3 separate regions of the Homo sapiens genome follow, and regions 1 and 3 are each linked to region 2. Evidence: promoter capture Hi-C in 16 types of primary human blood cells and fetal thymus (Javierre and others, 2016). All regions are on one chromosome and are shown on one strand. The core of a region is centred on a gene start or on the middle of the fragment in contact, and the rest is flanking DNA. Distances in the headings are between cores, read along the strand shown.

Region 1 (4,265 bases), core at 703-3,202, 92 kb before region 2:
TGCGAGTGAGAAAAGTGGCAGCCTGAAAGAATATCAGAAACACCAGGTTTATGGTAGTAATTATTATACTGGAGCCAAAAGGACAATATTTTAGTCTTTATTTCACATAATAGCACCATATATAGATGGCTGGATGGATGACAACAGATAGCCACTACAGTCTATGTTGCACGCAATTGCTATTGTATCTGACAGAGGTCTAGAGCTGATGTTGCTAAGACCATTCAGATTTATAATCCCCAGGCTGAATACCTGGGTAGCAAAAAGGAAGGCAGAGTAGAGGGAATCTAACTCTAACAGAAGGTCTATAGGAACAGCCAGTAATTAACTCCTTCCTCCCTTTTATTCATCTAAATCTACTTACACACGCAACTGTAGTTTTCCTTACTCTTCCTTCTATTTTATATTACTTTTTCTATTTATATTTTAGTCTATTTTCTGTTCAGTAAGATCCAAATTAAACAATTCAGAGGTCACTAGTATCTCAGTGACAGCTAATTTTCCTACGTACAATATTTTTGTACATAGGATGTTTAAGTTAACCAGCTTTGGAGGTGTAAGTTGTAATCAATAAAATTCATCCCATTAGTGTACAGTTCAGTAAGTTTTGACAAACCTACAGTCATGTAACCATTACCACAATCAAGCTATAGAACATTTCCATCACCCTGAGAAGCTCTCCTGTGCCCCTTCACAGTCAATAACCTTCCTCACTGTGGTAGGCAGAATTCTACCACAGTGCACCCACACCCCCATCCCCAGATTTCATACCCTATAGAAACCTGTAAATATGACAAGATATGTATTCCATTATCTCATTATGTTATATGGCGCAGTTGACCTAAAAATATGGCGATTATCTGGTTGGGCCTAATGTAATCACATGAATCCTTAAAAGCAGAGTGCTTTCTCTGGCTGGTGACAGAAAAAGAGAGATTTGAAGCATGAGAAAGACTTGATGTGCCATTGCTGCTTTAAAGGTGGAGGGGGCCTCAACATGAGAGAACAGATCCTGGTTGACAGCTAACAAAGAAACAGGAACCTCGCTCCTACAAGGAAATACTTCTGCCAACAACCTGAATGAACCCAGAAGCAGATTCTTCTTCCTTAGGGCCTCCAGATAAAAGGCCAGCCCATTTGATGCTTTGACCACTCTTGTAAGATCCAGAGCACAGAATCCAGTTAAAAACGACCTAGACTTCTGACCTACTAACACTGTGAAATAATAAATGTGCATTGTTTTAAGCTGTTGTGGTAATTTGTTACATAGTAATAGAAAATTAATACATTCAACCTGCAAGAAAACACTGATACACTTTCTGTCCTAGTTTCAACTTCTCTAGAATTTCTCATAAATGGACTCATACTTTTGAGTTTCATCTGTATTGCTGCACAAATCAGAAGTTGTACATTCCTTATTACTGAGTAATATTCTTTTGCTTATCTCTTTACTACTGGTAAAGGGAGATTAATTGCAGTTGTTTCCATTTTGGGGTTATTATGAATAAAGTAACTATACACATTCAAGTACAAGTCTTTCTGTGGATACATTTCTCTTGTAAATACCTAGCAGTGGGACTGCTAGGTTGTATTGTAAATGCATGTTTAACTTTATAGAAAATTGCCAAAGTGCCTTCCTAAGTTTTTGAATACTATGCAATTTTTTTTCTTTCTTTTTTGAGACGGAGTCTCGCTCTGTCTCCCAAGCTGGAGTGCAGTGGCGCGATCTCGGCTCACTGCAAGCTCCGCCTCCCGGGTTTACGCCACTTCTCCTGGCTCAGCTTCCCGAGTAGCTGGGACTACAGGCGCCCGCCACCACGCCCGGCTAATTTTTTGTACTTGTAGTAGAGTCGGGGTTTCACCCAGTTAGCCAGGATGGTCGCAATCTCGTGATCTGCCCGCTTCGGCCTCCCAAAGTGCTGGGATTACAGGCGTGAGCCACAGCGCCCGGCCCTGTAGAGGTTTTAAAGTTTTGGCTCTTATGGTTAGCTCTATGATTCATTTCAAGTTTGTGTGTGTGTGTGTGTGTGTGTGTGTGTGTGTGTGTGTGTGTAGTGTTAGACAAGGCTTTGGATTAATTTTGTCCAAACAAAATCTAATTTTCCAGCACCATTTTTTAAAATGAGTATGCTTTCCCTAAATTGCTTTGGAATACTTTGTCAAAAATTAATTGATTATAGCCAGGCACAGTGGCTCATGCCTGCAATCCTAGTACTTTGAGAGGCTGAGGTGGGAGGATCACTTGAGCCCAGGAGTTTGAGAGCACCTTGGGCAACACAGTAAGAACCATCTACAAAAGTACAAAAATTAGCTGGGCATGGTGGCACATGCCTATATAGTCCCAGCTCCTCAGGAGGCTGAGGTGGGAGGATCGAGTGAGCCTGGAAGGTAGAGGTTGCAGTGAGCTGTGATTGTGCCACTACACTTCAGCTTGGGTGACAGAGTGTGAGACCTTGTTTCAAAACAAAAACAAAAAATTAACTGATTACTTACATAGTAGATATATTTCTGGTCTCTCTATTCTACTAGGTTGGTCCAAAAGTAATTGTGCTTTTTGCCATTACTTTAAATGAATTATAAATATTTCAGGTATGTCTAGAATTATACCAAAACCACACTCTTTCAAAAAAAATAAATAACGTCTTAACAATATTGAGACCTCCAATCTAGGAATATTATGTCTTTCTACATTTTTTTAGGTCTTCTTTCTCTTAGAAATGTTTTGCTAATTTAGGTGTACAGGTTATACATATATATTTTTAAATTTATCTCTAAGTTTTTCATCTTTTTTTGACATTATAGTAAATGATGTTTTCAATTTTGGTTTCCAATTTTTCATTACTAACATGCAGAAATATAATTGATTTTTTGTACTGACAATAAAAACTGCAACCTTAGTTCTAGGAGCTATTGTATAGATTTCTTAGATACTTTTACTTCTTGCTTTCTAATCTGTAAGCCTCTTTCATCTTGTTCTTGCCCTACTTAACTGGGTAGGTAGGACGTCCTGTACAATGCCAAAAGGAAGAAGTAAGAACAGAAATACTAATCTTGCTTCCAATCTGAGATGAAATCATTCAGTCTTTAACCTTATGTGTAGGGTTAGCTGTAGATTTTTACAGGTATCTGTATCAGGTTGGGTAAGTTCCCCTTTATTCCTACTTTGTTGAAACTTTTATATTAAACAGTTGTTGAATTTTGTCAAAATTTTTTAAATTTTGTAAATACTGAGATGATTATATGATTCTATTTGTTGACAGTTTAAATGGTTGTTGAATTTTGTCAAAACTTTTAAATTTTGTAAATACTAAGATGATTATATGATTCTGAGTCTTAATGCAGTATATTACAATGATTTTCAAGTGTTAAATCAACCTTGTATTCCTGTCGATGATGCCAATTTATCAAAACCTATTCTTTTTATGCATTTTGGACTTAATTTGCTAATAAATTTTAAATAACTTTTACATCTGTATTCATGAGGGATTTTCAGTCTGTAGTTTTCTTGTGATATCTTTGTCTGATTTTGTTACTGAATTTTTTTTTCTTTGTTTGTTTTGTTTTTGTTTTTGAGACAGTGTCTCGCTGTGTCGCCCAGGCTGGAGTGCAGTGGCGCAATCTCAGCTCACTCCACCTCCCGGGTTCACGCCATTCTCCTGCCTCAGCCTCCTGAGCAGCTGGGACTACAGGCGCCCGCCACCACGCCCGGCTAATTTTTTGTATTTTTAGTAGAGATGGGGTTTCACCGTGTTAGCCAGGATGGTCTTGATCTCTGGACCTCGTGATCTGCCCGCCTCGGCCTCCCAAAGTGCTGGGATTACAGGCGTGAGCCACCACGCCTGGCTGTTATTAGAGTTATAATCATCTCATAAAGTGAACTTGGAAGTGTTTTCTCCTCTTTAATTTTCTGGAAGAGTTTATGTAGACCTGCTATTATTTCTTCTTAAAAGGCTGGTGGAATTCATCAGTAGCACTATCTGGGCCTAGAATTTTCTTTATGGGAATATTTTAAATCACAAATTAAATCTCTTTGATAGAAAGGGCTACTTAGGTTTTCTTTTCTTCTTGAGTGAGCTTTCATAGTTTGTGTCTTTAAAGGACTTTTCCCATTTCACCTAGTTGTCAAATTTATTGGCAAAAAAATTCACAATACTCTGTATTATCCCCTTAATGTTGGTAAGGTTTGCAATGATGTCCATTCTTTCACTCCTGATACTGTTAATTTGTATCTTCTCTTTTATTGATCAGTCTTGGCTAGGGATTTT
Region 2 (4,216 bases), core at 719-3,218:
AGGCATGAATTTTGGAACTTTGGATTGGTATGAATTCAGTTCTGGTATCTGACTCAGAATTATTCTCATTTTATTCCAAGCTAATTTGACATTACAGTAAAACATGAGAACCAAGTTGAATCCAGTACAGTGGTTCTGTATTGCAGAAAATAGAAAACAACAACGGACCTCTTAGTTATGATTACATTGCGTGGGGAGCATCTAAAAGTCTTTGATTCTGTTCCTCTTGCTTTATGGAAGGTGTAATATGAAAACATTATGCTCAATACTCTTCCCGGGTCTCAAGCTTCTAGGTCTCAATATTGTAGTGGTGAAAGGCTGCATTCCTTGTCAATACAGGGGAAATAAGGAGGCATTCTGAAAATGCCACTAATATATCTGGAATGGCTCAAATCAGCTCCTAAGAGGACCTGAATATTTTTCTTAACATTTAAAACTGATGCTATACGTTGCTTATAAACAAAGTTGAATTTCCTTTATAAGAATCAAAATGCAAGTTATAAAGCATTGCTTTCTCAAGTTAGTTGCTAGAATTTAAAGAAAAGGAGAGAGTGAAATATTACCTTGCACGTAATATATATTAAAATTTTTTTGAGTCATATGCTTTGAGACTACAATAACTTTATATTTTCTCAGAAGTTACAAATAAAAGTAGACTTTGCACACAAAATATGTTAGTAAATCAATTAACAAATATGAAGGGTTAAATAAATAAGCAATAGAAATGGAGTTAAATAATAAGCAATAAATATGAATTCCAACTTAATAGCTTGATAAAAAAGATGATAGAACTTATTTTGAGTGATTTATATAATGTAAGGTAAAAGAAATCAAGCTAAACCATGTGGGATGGACAATAAAGACAAGATTGTATGAGACTTGTCCAGAAAAAAAAAAGAATCGAGAGTGATCTTAACTTATAATGTGGAAGGCAAGCCAAGCAGAATGTACATCAGCTGTCAGATTGCTTCATGCCTTTTACAGCAGTTGTTCCTCTGAAAATAGCTTCCAAATGAGAAAGGATGACTACAAAAGGATTAGTTACCATAGGCTTTTCTACACCCCCTAGAGCTCCAGGTTTGTTATGACAGAACAGCAAGAATCTAAAGGAAGTAAACTATGGAATATTAAACAACGTCAGGATGGAGCCACATTCATGCTGTGCTATATTAATGCTACGAAGGATTTTTATTGATACCATTTCCATGGACTTCCTTCATGATGGCTGTTGCTTGCTGTTTTCTCTGCTTCATCATAGTATTATGTGATAGCATGGTTTTTTTGTTCCCTGTTAAAAACAAAGGGACATTATTGAGGCAATGTGAAGAACTCATTTGGAGTGTCTTATAATCACTGTTTTGAAAGACAACATCTTTGTTCTTTATTAAAAAGTTATTATCGCTTGCTACTGAAAGACTTCAATACGCATTCCTTATCTGGTGACAGAGTATGTTATTCATTGACAGGCAATGTCACAGTGAACAGAGACCCAGTCTGGACATTAATACAATGATCATCAGGCAGTGAGAAACAATGAAATTGCTGGTCTCCTTTCCCCTCCCTCTCTTTTCTCCACAGTATTTTAGTCTGTCATTGTCTCCTCACTGGCCTTCATTTGTACCAGCATCACACTCCATCAATTCCAGCAAACTGTAAGAATGAAGAAGACACTAGACTAAACCAGAATTCTTTGGTGGTAGCATTTTAATATTGGCAACAGCTGCCCTTTAAAGCAGAGAATGCCCATTTATGAGTCACAACTCTGAATATCCTTGGACAACTGACTAATGAAACATTTTAGGAAACAACATACTCACCTTGCTGTTAGATTGTGCTTTTTCAGCGGGGATGAATCCCAGTTTGTGGAGGAAGACTCTGGAGATGGACTATGGATGGCACTTGGGCCTGATGGTTTTTATCCTTGAACCTGGGACAGCATGGTCCCTACTCTGACTCAAACTGGGGACTGAGCTTTTCTGAAGAGACTGGCATTCAGCTGACATCAACTGGCTATATATAGCACCAAATACTTTAGCTACTCATATCTTCCTGGCGAAAGGGAGGAACAGGGAAAGATTAGGCTCTCTCCATTGTGTTTCTAGTTTGTGAGATGGTTAAATGAAACGTTCATTGGACATGCAGAAAGTTTTTAGTGAGCACTTTCTGTTGAACAGATAGTAGCCAAAAGGGATTTTAAACACTTTTAAACATCTAGCTCTTATGTTACATGTTAATTGAGGTGGCAAGAGACACATGCATGAATCAGAACAGAATGATAGATTTTTCATAATTAAAATGAACAATATAGGCAGTAATATCTATGTAGACTCAAGAAGAAAGGAAGTAATGTGGGGTGGATCAATAGAGCCAGTTCTTAAGCTGTAGTGAGAACTCATGCTAGGTTGAGAAAAGTATGTAGTATTTGAATAGTGAACTCAGGAAGCATTTTGAAATGAACCATTAGAGGATAAGCCATGAAGCTGGGTAAAAGCTGAGACTCATAACTGGGTCATGCTTTTTGAAGGGCCTACAGAGACCAGTCCCTGCAAAGTTGACCAGTCTTTACAATGTCTAGGGTCAAGGATTTTCATTTGCAGGCCTGACAAGATTTGAAAGGTTTGCCTGTCAAAAGGTTTGGCCTCCTTGATGGTCCCTGGACACAAAAACGTGCTCTCATCTCTGGGCTTTTCCTTTTACTGTTTCCCCCTTTCCTTTTACTATTTCCCCCTTTCCCTGGTTGAAATGGTGTCCTCAACAGATAATCATTATGTTAATTTTGGTTTCCAAAATGAAAATAGATACTGTATTCCTTTTACTATTTCCCCCTTCCATACTTTCCCTCTACTCACATGGCACAGTCATGCATTCAGGACTCTGCTCAGATAACAATCCCTCATAAAATCCTTCCCTTATCACCTTGTCTAAAATATCACACTGTGCCACTCTCTAGTCCCTTACTCTGCTTCATTTTCTTTATATTTTTCTATTAGTTAAGATAAAAGTCAAATGGGAGTGACAGAAACCCCCCCAAAACAGAACTGTAAAAAGATGGAAGATGTTTCTCTCACAGGTAAGCTTAGTCTAGAAGTAAGTAATTGAGGGTTTGCATGACTGACATAATTATCAAGGGCTCAGTTACCCTCTAACTTTTTGCTCCACTATCCCTAAAATGCAGACCCCTTGGGCCTAATTGGCTGCCCCAGCTCCAGTCAGCATGCATATATTTCAACCAGCAGGAAAAAGAAAAAAAAATGAGAAGGGAACACTGTCTTCTTTTCAGAACATGTCTGATATTTTGTTCATACTTCTGTTTACATCCCATTGGGCAGAACTTAGCCATATAGCCGTACATAACTCAAGAAAGGTTGGGAAGTGTAGCTTCTATTCTAGGTGGTCATGAGCCCAATTAAAATTCATACATAACTTACTAACAAAGAAATAATTGTTGCTGAGTGACAACTCAGTTTTTTCACTAAGAACATGCCAACATTATTCTATCTATCTATCTATCTATCTATCTATCTATCTATCTATCTATCTATCTATCTAGCAAAAGTTTATGTTATGTACAATTCTAAAGGTTGAAATGGCGTCCTCAACAGTTTTACTAGCACCTGTAATCCCAGCTACTCTGAAGGCTGGGGTGGGAAGATTGCTTGAGTCCAGGAGGTAGAGGTTGCATCTATTTATGTGATATCTCTTTTTTCTACTAAACTATGAATCCTATAATGGCTTGGGCTTTGTATCTTCAGCAGTTGGAATTGTATCTGGCATATGGTAAGCACTCAATATTCATTGAATGAATGAATAAATGAGTAGGTTGGAGATTAACTGCAGAATGCATTAAAGGTTTGGCATGAGTTTGGAATTCAAATGAACAGTCGCTTGAATGTACAAAGGTGGTGGCTATTTGTGGGAGGAATTGTATTTTATAAGATTGAAATCGGTTATACATTTTGGTGCCTGATCATAGGATTGAAAGTTTAAGGTTGTAAATCACAGCACTTTGGGAGGCCAAGGTGGGTGGATCGCTTGAGCCCAGGAGTTTGAGACCAGCCTAGGCCAGCTAGCAAAACTCTGCCTCTACCAAAAAAGCAAAAACAAAAACAAAAAACCCAAAAATTAGCCAGGTGAGTGGCATGCACCTATAATCTCAGCTACTCCAAAGGCTGGGGTGGGAAGATTGCTTGAGTCCAGGAGGTAGAGTTTGCAGTAA
Region 3 (4,405 bases), core at 303-2,802, 110 kb before region 2:
GAAGACAGTGTGGAGATTCCTCAAGGACCTAGAACTGGAAATACCATTTGACCCACCAATCCCATTACTGGGTATATACCCAAAGGATTATAAATCATTCTAGGATAAAGACACATACACAGGTATGTTTATTGTGGCACTATTCACAATAGCAAAGACGTGGAACCAACCCAAATGTTCATCGATGATAGACTGGATTAAGAAAATGTGGCACATATACACCTTGGAATACTATGCAGCCACAAAAAAGGATGAGTTCATGTCCTTTGCAGTGACATGGATGAAGCTGGAAACCATCATTCTCAGCAAACTGTCACAAGATCAGAAAACCAAACACCACATGTTCTCACTCATAAGTGGGAGTTGAACAATGAGAACACATGGACACAGGGAGGGGAATATCACACACTGAGGCCTGTGGGGGGTGGGGGGCTAGGGGAGGGATAACATTAGGAGAAATACCTAATGTAGGTGACAGGTTGATGGGTGCAGCAAACCATCATGCCACGTGTATACCTATGTAACAAAACTGCAAGTTCTGCACATGTAACCCAGAACTTAAAGTATAATTAAAAAAAAAAATCCTACTTGAATCATCTAGGTAGTCTGTATAAATAACAGCAAAACAAAGGCTCTATATCTACACTAACACCATAATGCAGGCAATGCAATCTGCAGTGAATTTCATATAAATATTGATTTACAATATAGATCAATAAGGGGCATTTATTTCTTTAACATAATTCTTTTTACCAAAGCTTAACCAATGGATTCTATTCATTAGCTAACTTCTCTCTCCTCTGCCCCAGGATATTTAAGACCATTTAATAATTTAAGCCTAGACTTCTAGACATTTTGTGAATTATCATATCATGTATTAGAATAATTCATTTAAGTGAAAGTAAAACTATAAAGTTTAGCATTGTTCAAAATATATTTGTTTTAAGCAAAAAATCAATTATAAACAGAAGAAATATGGAAAGTATATTTCATTACTGTGTGTGCCATTATTGACATTTTAATCAACATGCAAGTGTGCTAGGCAAGATGCTAGTCAATGAGCTTTCCATCTAAGGAAACCATGAAGATGCTCATTTTTAAAAAGGTGATTAATAATATAAAAATGCCAAATGAATTCTACAGAGTAAATTCTACAGAGAATGGATTGGGTGGTTTGGTCATGTGTTATCTGGTAGGCATAGACTTAGTCTGAACCTTGACAAAATGATAGATTTTTAAAGTTTTGAGTATTTCAGGAACTTGAGCAAAGGCTGCTAGTAGAACAGCCTTATAAATAAGGACTATAAACAAGAATATAAAAATATATGTGAGGAACAGAATGGAATAATCTCACTAGGAAGAAAAATCTAGGGATGAAGCACTGAGGGAAGGTGGAGTTTAATCTAAAGGGCCTTAAATATCAGAATAAAAAGTCTAGATTTAAATCACAGAAATATTTGAAGAGTAAGCGTTAACCTGAATAAAATCATATTGATATGGTGGTTATTTAAAAAATAGGACATAAGGCCAGTCGCAGTGGCTCACGCCTGTAATCCCAGCACTTTGGGAGGCTGAGGCAGGCAGATCACGAGGTCAGGAGATCGAGACCATCCTGGCTAACACAGTGAAACCCTGTCTCCACTAAAAATACAAAAAATTAGCCGGGCATGGTGGCGGGCACCTGTAGTCCCAGCTACTCAGGAGGCTAAGGCAGGAGAATGGTGTGAACCCAGGAGGTGGAGCTTGCAGTGAGCCGAGATCACACCACTGCACCCCAGCCTGGGTGACAGACCGAGACTCTGTCTCAAAAAAAAAAAAAAAAAAAAAATAGGACATAAATAAACAGGTTGAATGGACACCAATAGGAGGCTTAAATATACTGAACTGGAAGAAGTTGTGGTAGGGAATTAATACGGAAAGAAAAAACTTCTGAAAGGGTTTCTGATGAAAGAATTTACAAACTTTGCTGACTAGAAACAGAAAGAAGAGAGAAGAAATGGTTACAACTTAATTATAGGTGACATCAATATTAATGAGACATTTAATAATTAACATACCTATTTTACATGTATAAAGTATGTACCTGATCAAAGGAATGCTCTACTTACTAATATGGTGGTAACACAGAGCCTGAGAACATCAACCTCAGTGATTTTCAACCTGGAATGTGTGTAACAGGCTGTTGCCCCTGTTACCCACCAAAATCCCACCAAAATCCCCTTCTCTCCCAGTGAGAATCATTGCATGCAATGATAACTATTACTGCTGGGAATGTGCTGCATATGTGGTCCCTATAGTGGCAGAACACTGATTTAAGTGATATCATTTATATTCAGCAAAGCTTATTGCTCCAACTAAGTTTTAAAACATTTTAGTAGCCTAAGAGTAAAAATTAGAGCAACAAAAATAATCAAAACCAAAAGTACAACACAAAACACAGATGGATTGAAGTTGAGGCTTGAAGGATGGGTAAGATATGGATCTACTGGACAGTTTTGACATTTTTCTATTGTTCTAAATTTTTGTTTCATTTGTCTCAACACTTGTACCATCTAAGGAATGAAAACTACTATCCTGACTTCTTAAGGAATATCAGAAACACTTACAAAGCACTCCGCAGCATCATCCATAAGGCCAAGTTGAAATCGCTGCTCATCTTTGAAACTTTCTGCAAGAGCATGCCTTATGTTATCTGAGGGAAGTGCTTTTTCTCGACTGTGTTGGAACTGTGCAAATATCGTCTGGGAATCGACAAGAAAATCAGTAAGTTTAATGCCAGCTTTAACGACATTTCAGTAATTTCATTACAACACAGAGAAACTCAAAACACTATACTTGGAAAATAATACAGAAGTCTTTTGCTCTAAAATTTCATACAAAAATTAATTATTTGTATCATCAAGTGTAGAAATGTTTGCACCAGCCTCTAAATCAAATGTTAGCAGACACAAGAATTAAACATGTAGGGTTCCCAGGTCCCACCCTCAGAGGACACTGCTGGTCCTGAGCATTTCAGACAAGAGATACCCAACCTGTATTTCGGAAAATAATACAGAAGTCTTTTGCTCTAAAATTTCATACAAAAATTAATTATTTGTATCATCAAGTGTAGAAATGTTTGCACCAGCCTCTAAATCAAATGTTAGCAGACACAAGAATTAAACATATAGGGTTCCCAGGTCCCACCCTCAGAGGACACTGCTGGTCCTGAGCATTTCAGACAAGAGATACCCAACCTGTATTTCTAATCTAAATTAAGAAACTGGAAACATCATTCAGTTTCTAATCTAAACCTAAGAAACTGGAAATATGAGATTATAGTTGTTAATATGATTTTCAATTTTCCTTATTAAACTTAAGCAAGAAAAAACATTTTAATAAATTCCAATTTTATGACAATCATCTTACATGGAAGAAAGAAAAGTTTTCAATGACAGCCCACCAAAGTAGTATTGGTCACATTCAGTCCCATGTTAGCTCAAAGGGTCATGTCATCTCAAAAAAAAAATATTTTTTTAAGATCAACATACAAAGAAAACATTTCACAAATCTGTTTCACTACAGCAAAAAAATACAATTTATAAATAAAATAAGAAATAAAAAAACAGATGTCATCTGATATTAGATACCCAGAACTATAATTATTTTAGCCATTATAGTAGCTAAAATTATGAATAGTAAAAGATGAAAAATAACTTTCAGATTTTATCTCTTATTTAGGCAATTAACTTCCAGGTAATGTTTAAGATTTTTAATCCTATGCGAGACTGTCACTCATTGATTCAACATATATTTTTTGCCTCCCTCGTATATGTTAGGCATTGTTCTACCCTAGAAAAATGGATGACAACCCTGCCCACATGGAGCCTATATTCTAGTTATAGTAATGAGAAGGCAAAGAAGTAATTATATAACATCAGAATGTGATAAGTACAGTAGAGAAAAATAGATACAAGAGAGAAAAATAAAGCAGTGTAACGGGGATAGGAATGCCAGGGATATTACAGATGGAAGCAGCTTACCTTTTACCTAGGGTAGTCGGGGAAGGCCTCACTAATGGAAAAGTAACATTTGAGGAGAGGCATAAAGGAAATAAGGGTGTTAGCCATGAGGACATCTGGAAGAAAAGCATTCCAGACAAAAGGAATAACAATGAGAAGACTTTGAGGTGGGGATCAGCTCTGAGAAATAGAGCCCAGTTTGGCTAAAATGCAATGTGTTTATGTGTGTTTTTGACAGGGGAGGAGAGGAAGGCAAGCACAGGAAAGAGGCAGGTGACTGTGCAGGGCTACAAGAGAGTTGGTCTAGGAAATTAATAATCCTAGGTTTTACAATTAGACAAAACATTCAAAATTTACTGTGGAATAAATAAAATGTGATACTGTAATGTGATCTAGGTTCATTC

The links. Contacts are between HindIII fragments. The CHiCAGO score rates a contact against its expected background, and 5 or more counts as called.
Region 1: a contact is called between a fragment that was not itself captured here and the fragment with the promoter of MYOZ2 in region 2, in 2 of 17 cell types (naive CD8 T cells and M1 macrophages). The highest score is 5.9, in naive CD8 T cells.
Region 3: a contact is called between a fragment that was not itself captured here and the fragment with the promoter of MYOZ2 in region 2, in 8 of 17 cell types (M2 macrophages, naive CD8 T cells, naive CD4 T cells and 5 more). The highest score is 8.1, in M2 macrophages.

Annotation. Positions count from the first base shown.
Region 1 is chr4:119,225,045-119,229,309 of GRCh38, reverse strand. The region is part of intron 3 of USP53 (ubiquitin specific peptidase 53); the gene reads right to left. Among named protein-coding and RNA genes, the nearest start is that of USP53, 14 kb to the right of the region's middle. The HindIII fragment of the contact is 4,958 bases long and covers 1-4,265 here.
Region 2 is chr4:119,133,584-119,137,799 of GRCh38, reverse strand. It overlaps MYOZ2 (myozenin 2), which reads right to left and starts at 1,968. Exons shown (of 6, transcript NM_016599.5): 1 at 1,818-1,968; 2 at 1,199-1,288. The coding sequence starts at 1,274. The HindIII fragment of the contact is 2,789 bases long and covers 289-3,077 here.
Region 3 is chr4:119,247,084-119,251,488 of GRCh38, reverse strand. USP53 (ubiquitin specific peptidase 53) reads right to left here. Exons shown (of 19, transcript NM_001371395.1): 7 at 2,607-2,741. Among named protein-coding and RNA genes, the nearest start is that of USP53, 37 kb to the right of the region's middle. The HindIII fragment of the contact is 1,583 bases long and covers 761-2,343 here.